Regions from separate parts of the Homo sapiens genome. Here regions 2 and 3 are each linked to region 1. The links are contacts of gene promoters, found by promoter capture Hi-C in blood cells and fetal thymus (Javierre and others, 2016). All regions are on one chromosome and are shown on one strand. The core of a region is centred on a gene start or on the middle of the fragment in contact, and the rest is flanking DNA. Distances in the headings are between cores, read along the strand shown.

Region 1 (3,199 bases), core at 474-2,973:
GATGATCCACCCGCCTCGGCCTCCCAAAGTGCTGGGATTACAGGCGTGGGCGGCCGCGCCCGGCTTTCAGGTAAATTTAATGGCACTAGATCATCCTGAAGAAAGTCCTTTCCCAAGATCATGACTATGTTCCTTTCTTCCCCTCTCAGCACCATTTGAGCAAATGATTGGTGGAGCAGTGGGGAAGGACTGTGGCAGTCAGGAGACTCAAGTGCTAGACTCAGCTTTGCCTCCAAGGAGTTTGTGGTCCTGGGCAAGTCTCTCCCACTCTCTGGATCCCAGCTTTCCTGGCTGGACAGCAAGGACTCTAAGGTCTTTACCTGCTCTAATCTTTTCTGGTTCTACAAACATTTGATGCAGCTTTAATGGGACCTCAGGGAAGTAGGGAGGTCTGGGAAGAAGGGTCTTTTGAAGCCCCAGCACATAGGCATATGAACCGGATGCCCTTAAGAACCACTGAAACAGAGATCTAACAAAACTCTGAGGAAGGGAAGAGGACAGCCCCTCTGAATATAGTCCTAGCCCACACCAGATTCCCTCTTCCCCTCCACAATGAAAGCAAAAATGGAGTTAAATATCAGTTTTTGCCCAACCACTTCAGGCTACTTTCCTTCATCTGCGGGTTATGGGTGGCAGCGTAGAAGTGTGGGCTATTGCCATCAGTGCCTGCTGACCCAACCTAACTGCCTTCTAAGGCCCTTTTGCTTATGCCTCCCAGCTGAGGACAAAGTCATGGGGGCCTCCCACTCCCCAGAGGCCCTAACCAGGCTTAAGCTGCTCCTGGCTAAGTCAGAGAGGCATCAAAATGCAGCCACCACTTCCTCTCTGCAAAAGGAAGTCATTCCAAGGTCTCCAGGTGGAGAAGGGAACACCATGGCATAAAATGAACTGTTGGAGGATTATACTAAACACACACACAAGCACACACTCCTTGGGAGGGAGAGAAGAGCTCTGTTAACTGACTGTGGCCCAAGCCCATTTCCAGAATGTGGGTTTCTGCAGCTGTCTCTCCTTGACAAAGCCCCAAGTGTGGACAGGGTGACCCCAGCCCGGACAAGGAAGGGCTTTAGGGCTCCCTCAGGCAGCTTCCTGAGAGAGAGAGAGTGGCTCTCTGGCCCTCATGCTCTGGGGCTGACCAGGGAAAGGAGTTGCAGAAAATCTAGTTGGGGGCAGGGGGGAGTCATGCAGCTCTCCCATAAGGCCCCCTCCACAATTCCAGGCTTTGTGACCGTCCCCTCCCCCCACAACCCCGTGCCAGCTTGTCAGCCTCCTGCGAGCTTCACTGCTTCCAGAGAAGCCCTCTGCCATCCCCCTTCCCTCTCTGGCCTCCCAAGTGACCCCTGGGATGTTCCTGGGCACATAATCTGGCCCCCACCCCTATTCCACCTTAATCTCAGAGGGAGATAGAAAAGTGGAGGGGGATGGTAGGGGGGTTTCCTGGGCAGGCAGGCTAGCAGGGACTCCTAAAATGGCCACAGCAAGCTCACTGGTGTCTCAAGGACGGCGGCTAGGGCGGTGGGCAGAGGCCAGGGTGCTCACTGCCTTGTGGCTCGTTGGAGGAACTGGAGGTGGGGCTGGGGGACTGAGAGGCTCAAGCAAGGGAAGCCAAGGTTACATGCACTCACCATTCCCGATCCGCCCCTTATCCACTGCATGGTGCTTGCGAAGTCCGGCTTCTCTGAGGCCCCGTAGCTGGCGCGAGTTGTCGCGGGCTGACTAGAAGGGCTGGGCTGAAGCAAGCGAGAGCCCCAGCGCCCCCTCCGCCGCCCCTCCTCCACAGCCCTACAACCCAATCCCCTCCGCCCCGGACCTCGCCTTCAGTCAGTTTGTTCCATGCCAACCGGCAGGCTCTGTCTCTCCGCCCTGCTGCTCCTAGAGGTCTTGGCAGGGAGAGGTGCGAGTGTGGGGGGGTCCTAATGGGCTGCTTTTGTCCCCCACCAAGGCTTGAGAACTGTGGGGGTGGGGTGCAGGGAGAGGATGGGGGCGAATAGCCTCCGCCCGCCCAGGAGAAGGCAGCTGCTACCTCTGCCTGCCTCCCGCTGCGCTGGAGTTAGATGCTGTTTATTGTGGGGCTTCCCAATTGTGTCGAGTCAGCGGAAAGTCCTTTCCAAAGTTACCAGAGGTGTTGTGCCAATCTCCAGAATAATAAGATCCTGCCCCAGTGGAGCCAAGCCAGCACTCTCATGCCTCCCTCCCCCACCCTCCCTCTGCATACTCCCCTAGGGTCTTCTCTCTTTGTGTACTATCTGAGAGCTTTCATCTGCATTACTTTCACTTCTCAGAACAACCCTGTAGAGGCAGCCATTAGTATCTCCAAGTTATAGATAAATAAATGGAGGTTTGGAAGAGGGAAGGGGCATAAGGTCACATTAAAGAAAAAAAAAAGATAAATCCTCGACTTTACCCTCTGCGGCTTTCCAAGCCTCTTTCGGCTATCTCTCCCTTTCTATCTCACACACACCACTCCAGGCTTCTCCTTCATGCCCTTAGGAACATGAAAGGTAGCTTGTTGATGGACGAATTTTCCATTTGCTTATTTTGCTGAGAATGAGTTGAATGCACATCAGCGAAACAGGCAAACGGAGAAACCACCCACCTCTTTATGATTCCCCCAACTCTGGGGAACACAACACAGGCTGGTACCTTTGCTTAGGCTAAAAATTGACTTTGTCAGTCACACTAACATCTGTTATTATCCCTTATAATCCTCACAGTAACTCTATGAGATGGACACAACAAGGATTCTTAATTGCCCACCATTACAGACTTGAACACTGAAGCCCAGAGATTGAAAGACTTCTGCTTAAAGTAGCACAGCCAAACAAGACAAGAATCCAAGGCTCCTGACTAGAAGAGCAGGTCAGGCAAAGACAGAATTGCAAAAACAGAGGTTGCAACCAAAGTAAAAGGAGTTACAGTATGATATTAGAAAGAAGTTCCTGGAGATAATTGACATGAAGACATCACTGGCCTGTTACACGTACTTTATTTGTCCTCTTCTTTTTAGCACAACTTCTGCACTTCATCCAACCTGTTGTTTTGTCCATGCAGAGCTGGGCAAAGATAGAAGCAGTACCTTAATGAGCACCCCATCATGGGAGGTGTACAAGCAGAAGCTGAATGACCCTTTGGCAAGGGATTCCTGAATCAAATGGGAGGTTGCCCTGGATGACCTTTCAACTTCCCTCCCAAGTCTGGT
Region 2 (3,682 bases), core at 822-3,321, 1.7 Mb after region 1:
TTTCCACTTTCTCTCTCCCATCACAGTGTATGATGCCTCCTTGGTGTTGTCTGTCTCTCATCTTTGTGGACAGTTAATTTTCTGCCTTTACCCCAAACAGTAAAACCCTAACCTGAGTGACCAGATTGTTACAACAGTTTTTGGCACAGAGGGTTCCATCACTGAGAGAGAGTCTTACCCCAAGGCATTATTTTTCAGGCAAAAAATGCACCTACGGCCACAAGTGCAAATACTACCATCCGGAGCGGGCCAACCAACCCCAGCGTTCGGTGGCTGATGAGCTCCGCATCAGTGCCAAACTGTCCACAGTGAAAACTATGAGTGAAGGCACCCTGGCCAAGTGTGGCACAGGGATGTCTAGTGCCAAAGGTGAGATAACCTCAGAGGTCAAACGTGTGGCCCCCAAGCGCCAATCAGATCCCAGCATCCGGTCTGTGGCTATGGAGCCTGAGGAATGGCTGTCCATTGCCCGTAAGCCTGAGGCTAGTTCTGTCCCCTCGCTTGTGACTGCCCTAAGTGTTCCCACAATCCCACCCCCCAAAAGCCATGCAGTGGGTGCACTCAACACCCGTTCGGCCAGCAGCCCAGTGCCAGGATCCTCCCATTTCCCCCACCAGAAGGCCTCTTTGGAGCATATGGCCAGCATGCAGTATCCTCCCATCTTGGTTACCAACAGCCATGGGACCCCTATTAGCTATGCTGAGCAATACCCAAAGTTTGAATCCATGGGGGACCATGGCTACTATTCAATGTTAGGTGACTTCTCCAAACTGAACATCAACAGCATGCATAACCGAGAGTATTACATGGCTGAAGTAGACCGGGGGGTGTATGCCCGGAATCCTAACCTCTGTTCTGACAGCCGTGTGAGCCATACCAGGAATGACAACTATTCCTCTTACAACAACGTGTATTTGGCTGTAGCTGATACCCATCCTGAAGGCAATTTGAAGCTGCACCGCTCAGCATCCCAGAACCGACTTCAGCCTTTTCCTCATGGTTACCATGAAGCCTTAACACGAGTGCAGAGCTATGGCCCAGAGGATTCTAAGCAAGGCCCCCACAAACAGTCAGTCCCCCACTTAGCTCTGCATGCCCAGCACCCATCAACTGGAACACGTTCCAGCTGTCCTGCAGACTACCCCATGCCTCCCAATATCCATCCTGGGGCAACCCCCCAGCCAGGCCGTGCCCTGGTGATGACTCGGATGGATAGCATTTCCGACTCCCGCCTCTATGAGAGCAACCCCGTGAGGCAAAGACGACCTCCCCTGTGCCGGGAACAGCATGCCAGCTGGGACCCGCTGCCCTGTACAACTGACTCCTATGGCTACCACTCCTATCCCTTGAGTAACAGCCTCATGCAACCATGTTATGAGCCAGTCATGGTACGGAGCGTGCCTGAAAAGATGGAGCAGCTTTGGAGGAATCCTTGGGTTGGAATGTGCAATGATTCCAGGGAGCATATGATCCCAGAACACCAGTATCAGACCTACAAGAACCTCTGCAATATTTTCCCTTCTAACATCGTCCTTGCAGTGATGGAGAAGAATCCCCACACAGCAGATGCCCAGCAACTGGCAGCCTTGATTGTTGCTAAGCTTAGGGCTGCACGTTGATATGACATAGTACTTATTTCTTTATACAAATATGAATATTAATACTAATAATACACTAATACAATAATTATAGTAACTAATAATTTGTGTTGCGCTTTACAAGTTAGAGTGTTTATATCATTTAAGCGCTTAACAACCCTGTGAGGTACGTCTTACTAACATCCTCTTTTATAGAGAAGGAAGGTGAAGGTCAGTGAAATTAAGTGGCTAGCCAGGGTCACACTGCTAGCAAATGACTAAGTCAAGACACACACCCAAGTCCTCTAAATCCAAGTCCCATGCCCCTTTGCACTGCACCATGCAGGTAATGGAGGACAAAACCCAGGGGGAGAGGTCTAGATGTAAGAAATCCCAGAGGATTCCATTACCAGAGTTTTCCTTTTTCTCTTTTCGTTTCTTTCTTTCTTTCTTTATTTTTTTTTTTTGAGACAGAATCTCACTCTGTTACACAGGCTGGAGTGCAGTGGCACTATCTCTGCTCACTGCAACCTCCACCTCCAGGGTTCAAGTGATTCTATGGCCTCAGCCTCCCAGGTAGCTGGGATTACAGGCGTGCACCACCATGCCCAGCTAATTTTTGTATTTTTAGTAGAGACGTGGTTTCACCGTGTTGGCCAGGCTGGTCTCAAACTCCTGGCCTCAAGTGATCCGCCCACCTTGGCCTCCTAAAGTGCTGGGATTACAGGTGTGAGCCACTGCGCCCAGCCTACCAGAGTTTTCGTAGTCACATATTCTATATTACAAAGTATGGATGATATATCCAATTTAGAGAGCAAAAGCATCAGGATCAGATCATATGTTGAATTAACCTTTTAGGTTTTTTCTAATAGAAATATTTAAAGCTATTTAAAAGTAAATGCATACTTTATTGCATGGATATCTGATCACTCAATCTATATTAATGAAACTATAGGGTCACATTGAAGCTTCTAGAACTATATTTTAAAGCTATTATTAGCAATTATATTGCATGTATGAATATATATATTTGGTTTGAGATGTGTGTGTATCTCTGTATAACCTTTTATATAGTGATAATGAGAGGGTAGGCTCTACACAGTCCTTCGTCTATAGCTGTATAGGTCACTAATCTGACTTGATGATTTTAAGTCACATTTCATAGTTTTAACTAGTTATGAGAGAGAAATTATATGGCAATATTTGAACATTGCTTTCTTAGGCACCAGAGCAAAGCAACTCTGTTTCCTTTGCACATTTTACCTGCCAACATTTATTAACAGTTCTTACCTTCCAAGTCTCTTCACCTTAGCAAATTAGGGATCAGGTTGCAGTCTTCTGCAGAGAAACTGATGGTTAAGCTCAAGTTCCAAGCATAGTATGTGTGTGCTACACAAGCTCAGAAGAGTTTGACAAGGACCAGGGGACTTACTACCACAATCCACTTCCCTTATCCCAGGAGAGATGGCCAAACCCATGTGGCATTAAATGGTGAATAAAAAAGCTTCACTCAAGGAGGGACTATTGGATGCTCTTTGGACTTCTGACCTATGCAGTATTCAACATCATTGGATGAAATGTAATGGAGGACAGTGCACAGCCATGTATCCACTTTCTCTTCCTGTCCACCCTTTGGGTAATAAGGTCAATCATTGGTGGAACAGAATTTCTCTAGGAAACAAAACCAGGGGATTTTATTTGTGGAAAAAGGAAGTTTCCAAAAGGGGATACTGCATCTTTACTAATAGCTGGCTCAGTTACTCACTTTAAATCCATGCAAAGAGTGCACTTGCTGTTAAATAATTGTTAAATGAGTTATTAGAAGGCAGGACTTTTGGTTTGGGCGACACCATTTGCGCAACTTGTATCTTGCTCAGGGTGGAAAACTTCATAGCTAAATGCCTCTAGAAGAGGTGTTTATTGTTTTTTTTAAGCTGCACTAAATGAATTCCCTTTTTGAATCCATTGTATATTTCAATATTTCGAACCATGATCAGCTCACTATTTCCTGAGCTGGAACTTGCTAACTTCTATGATCGTTTTTTCATGAAAGTTGAGAAGGCCGGGCCTTGGCCTTTTGTTTCTTCATGAGAAGGTGTGACACT
Region 3 (3,310 bases), core at 86-2,585, 1.7 Mb after region 1:
AGATCAGTTCACGAGGGCTGGACCTCAGGTCGAGGGGGCCCTGCCGGATGCCTCCATGTGCTCGAGGAAGCTAGGGTGAAATGGGAGAGGGGGAGGGGCTTGAGGTGAGCGGTAAGGGTTTAGAATAGTGAGGAAATGGGAGAGAAAGTGGTCAGAAAACAAGTAAAAGTTCAGACAAGCAGAACTGAGGCCTCGCCCGAGATTAAAAATCATACCTCTGCAGTGGCAGCAATCCGCAGGGCTATGTGGTTTTCTCCAGCAGAGCTCAGCTACCCGGGCTGAGGAGCAGGGGAAGCAGAATGGGGAGGATCAATTCCAGCTCAGGGGTTTGCAAGTCAGATATGGCCAAAGGATGGGCAAAGCTGAAGGTGCTGATGATGAGTGGCCGAACTGAGCAACCACAGACAGGATAGAGAGGAAGCAAGGTCAAGGGATGCAGGAAATGGAGGGATGGAGATCTGGATGCAGGCAAAGAGCAGATGTCATGGGATGCAAGGGTGAGAACTAGAAGGACGAGAAGTGGTGGTCACCGAGTGGGATGCTGGGATGTGAGCTTTCAGAGGTGGAATAGCTCCGAATGATGGAAATGGGTTGCTGAGTGTAGTGGAGAATGAAAGTCACTGGAGTTGAGGAGCTGTAGAGTGTCAGATGAGTCATCCAAATGAAACAGATATTGCTCAAGAAAGCAAGAAGGGAATCAGGCGCTAAAGGCTTCCATGATTATGAGGGAAGTGGCTCAGGGTCAGGAAATGACAGAGAAAAGGAAAGGGAGACAACCACAGGTATTTACCAGTGCAATATTCAGTTTGACCATAGAACCCAGGGTGGATAGGGTAAAGGAGACTCACAGGAGGTATGGCTACCATGGTAAGTTGGGCCAGAATCAGAAAGATCTTTGAATGTCAGGCTAAGAAGCCTAGACTTAACAGGAAGGCAATAGGGAGCAACTGAAGGTTGCTAAGCAACTATCAGAGGTATACTTTGGAAAGATAATAGAGGAAACAGCACTGGGCTTGGAGTCAGAAGACCTGGGTTCAATAATAAACAGCAGCTACCATTTATTGTGCACTTACTCTGTGCAGGCCACTGTGCTAAGCACTCTAGGGGGATTGTCTTATCCATTCCCACACTGGACTCAGTTCAGTCAGGTCTTAAGCTGTATGATCTTAGGTAAGAAAACCCTACCCCTCCCCTCTCTGGACTCAGTTGTCCCATCTGTCAGTGGGAGTGAGACTGGGCTAGACTGTCCCCAAAGGGCCCTTCTAACTCAGTCATTCTAGGGCAGTGTGGCCCTGAGGCTTGAAGGGCCTCACCCTCTTACCGGATGGAATTCAAGAGACTTACATCCGAAGGAGTTGGGGGCTGGCCCAGCAAGGTGAGCCCAAGCAGGACTCAACCATCCGGGGCCAGTCAAGGGAGGCGGAGCAGTTGAACAGCCTCCAGCCCCTTCTTGCTTCCCACTGGCCTGCAGAAAATCGGCGAGCATTCCGTCCTGAGAGAGAAGAGAGGATCTAAGGAGAAGGAAGCAGTGAGCCCCCCACCCAACATTTCACCTCAGAAAGTTTGGCTCTGTCCCTCCCCATCCCCCCAGACTCCCCACCTATACCTCCCAACTGCTCAAAGAATTCAGGGCACTTTGCCCCAGCCCAGTTTAGTTGGCTCTGAGAAGAAAAGGAAAAGGGAGATTTGTCCACTGCTGCCGTGGGGCCCTCTTGGGCAAACCTAAACCTTTAACACGGGAGGTGTTTGCCTGGTGCTTCTTAGCAGAGAGCTGAGGACAGTGGCAGAGGCTCCTGCCTGGGCTGCCTTAGGCCCTAGGGCTAGGGCTAGTCTCCCTCACCAGTCTTGGTGTTGGCCACGATCAGTTCAACGGTCCATCTGAGGATGTAGGTAGGCCGGATCCCGCTGATCCCCAAGGCTGGCAGTTCAGAGAGCATCCTCTCCAATAGGGCCTGCGTGAAGTTCTGGGAGTGCAGGCCCCTGAGCAGGGGCTGCCAGAACTGAGAGAACGGCTTTGGCACCAGGACGTCATTCAAGTCCACGTTTTCTGGTTTGTAAGGGACACCCATTTGGGGGGGCAATAGGAGAGAGAGAGCAGGAGAGCACGAAAGAGAGAGCAAGAGACAGCAAGAGAAAGGAAGTGAGAGTGAGAGCAAGAGAATGTGTGCGCGCGCATGAGCCAAGCCCCCCACCAACAACAGAGTTGCCACCGCAGAACAAAGGAAAGAGGAGAGCAGAACAGTGGGGAGAGAGAAACCAGTTAGTATCTGGCAACCAACAACTGACTCAAAATAAAGTATAAACAAAACAGAGATCTGGTTCTAGCTTCAGCTTTGTCAATAACTCACTGTGTGACTTTGGGTCAGTACCTTCCCCTCTCTGGACCTCAGTCTGACCATCTGTAACATGAGGATGTTGGACTAGATGACCTCACAAGGCCCCTCCAATTCTGCTGTTCTAGCTCTCTAGCTAGCAGCTAAATCACAACGAACATGGCACAATAATGTCATTAAGACTCCCCGACCCCACCCCATCCCACCCCACCCCATTCCAGAGCACTTAAGGGCAGCCCCACAACTGTCAGTGGGGCTACCTGTTCTGCTCAGCCAGGAAGGCTGAGGGACTTTCAGAGGCCATGGAATGGCAGGAAACAGCCTTCACACCCCAACCCAGGGCCCCCCAGCCCACCCCAGCTGTTTCCACCCAGGAATCAGAACCCTAAGGGTGCAGTGAGCCCCCAGAACCCTACCTTCATATTCTATCTGCAAAGCTGCCAACTGTTCAAATGTGGGGACAAGGAAGCCATCATCCAGAAAAGCATCCAGCACAGCCTCCCTGGAACAAGAGGACACTAGTTTAGCAAAGTGATGCTGGCAGAAGACCCTCTCCTACTCCTCCACCCACCTCCAAAGCAGCTAATGCCTCTGGCTCAAGTGGCTGAAGCAGCATAGGGAGGAGGGGTGGTGGGTGGGTAGGAGTGGGGAGGAAGGGAGTTGACAATTGGATCTTAGGCTTCAGCCTCCTCAGGCAGGGGCTGGTTAGAGGCTGGGATCAGTGGGTTTTGAACAAGTGCTTACCAAGCACTAATGCTGATCTATGGCCCATAACGAGAGCAGTAGTGTCTGAATACACTTCAACACACAGACAGGAAAAAGTTCCACATCCACAGAAGGAAATAAATGCCTGGGATCATGGGGTCAAGGGCTTTTAGACTCAGTTCTTGCAGTCTGTTTATCTTGACCATTCTTCAGTACCCTACCCCTTCTCTTCTCCCTGGCTACCTTCTTTTAGATCCTAGAAGTAGAAACCT

The links. Contacts are between HindIII fragments. The CHiCAGO score rates a contact against its expected background, and 5 or more counts as called.
Region 2: a fragment that was not itself captured here is called in contact with the fragment with the promoter of ARHGEF9 in region 1 in 4 of 17 cell types (total B cells, total CD4 T cells, naive CD8 T cells and 1 more); the score reaches 9.4 in total B cells.
Region 3: a contact is called between a fragment that was not itself captured here and the fragment with the promoter of ARHGEF9 in region 1, in 4 of 17 cell types (naive B cells, fetal thymus, naive CD4 T cells and 1 more). The highest score is 7.2, in naive B cells.

Annotation. Positions count from the first base shown.
Region 1 is chrX:63,783,491-63,786,689 of GRCh38, forward strand. It overlaps ARHGEF9 (Cdc42 guanine nucleotide exchange factor 9), which reads right to left and starts at 1,724. Exons shown (of 10, transcript NM_001353921.2): 1 at 1,626-1,724. The coding sequence starts at 1,655. MIR1468 (microRNA 1468) reads right to left here and starts at 2,597; the gene lies at 2,512-2,597. The HindIII fragment of the contact is 6,142 bases long and covers 1-3,199 here.
Region 2 is chrX:65,501,591-65,505,272 of GRCh38, forward strand. ZC3H12B (zinc finger CCCH-type containing 12B) reads left to right here. Exons shown (of 10, transcript NM_001010888.4): 10 at 199-3,682. The coding sequence ends at 1,619. Among named protein-coding and RNA genes, the nearest start is that of LAS1L, 31 kb to the right of the region's middle. RefSeq lists enhancers at 722-1,222, 1,223-1,723. The HindIII fragment of the contact is 944 bases long and covers 1,600-2,543 here.
Region 3 is chrX:65,522,216-65,525,525 of GRCh38, forward strand. It overlaps LAS1L (LAS1 like ribosome biogenesis factor), which reads right to left. Exons shown (of 14, transcript NM_031206.7): 8 at 2,750-2,835; 9 at 2,349-2,399; 10 at 1,841-2,047; 11 at 1,345-1,492. Among named protein-coding and RNA genes, the nearest start is that of LAS1L, 11 kb to the right of the region's middle. The HindIII fragment of the contact is 4,278 bases long and covers 1-3,310 here.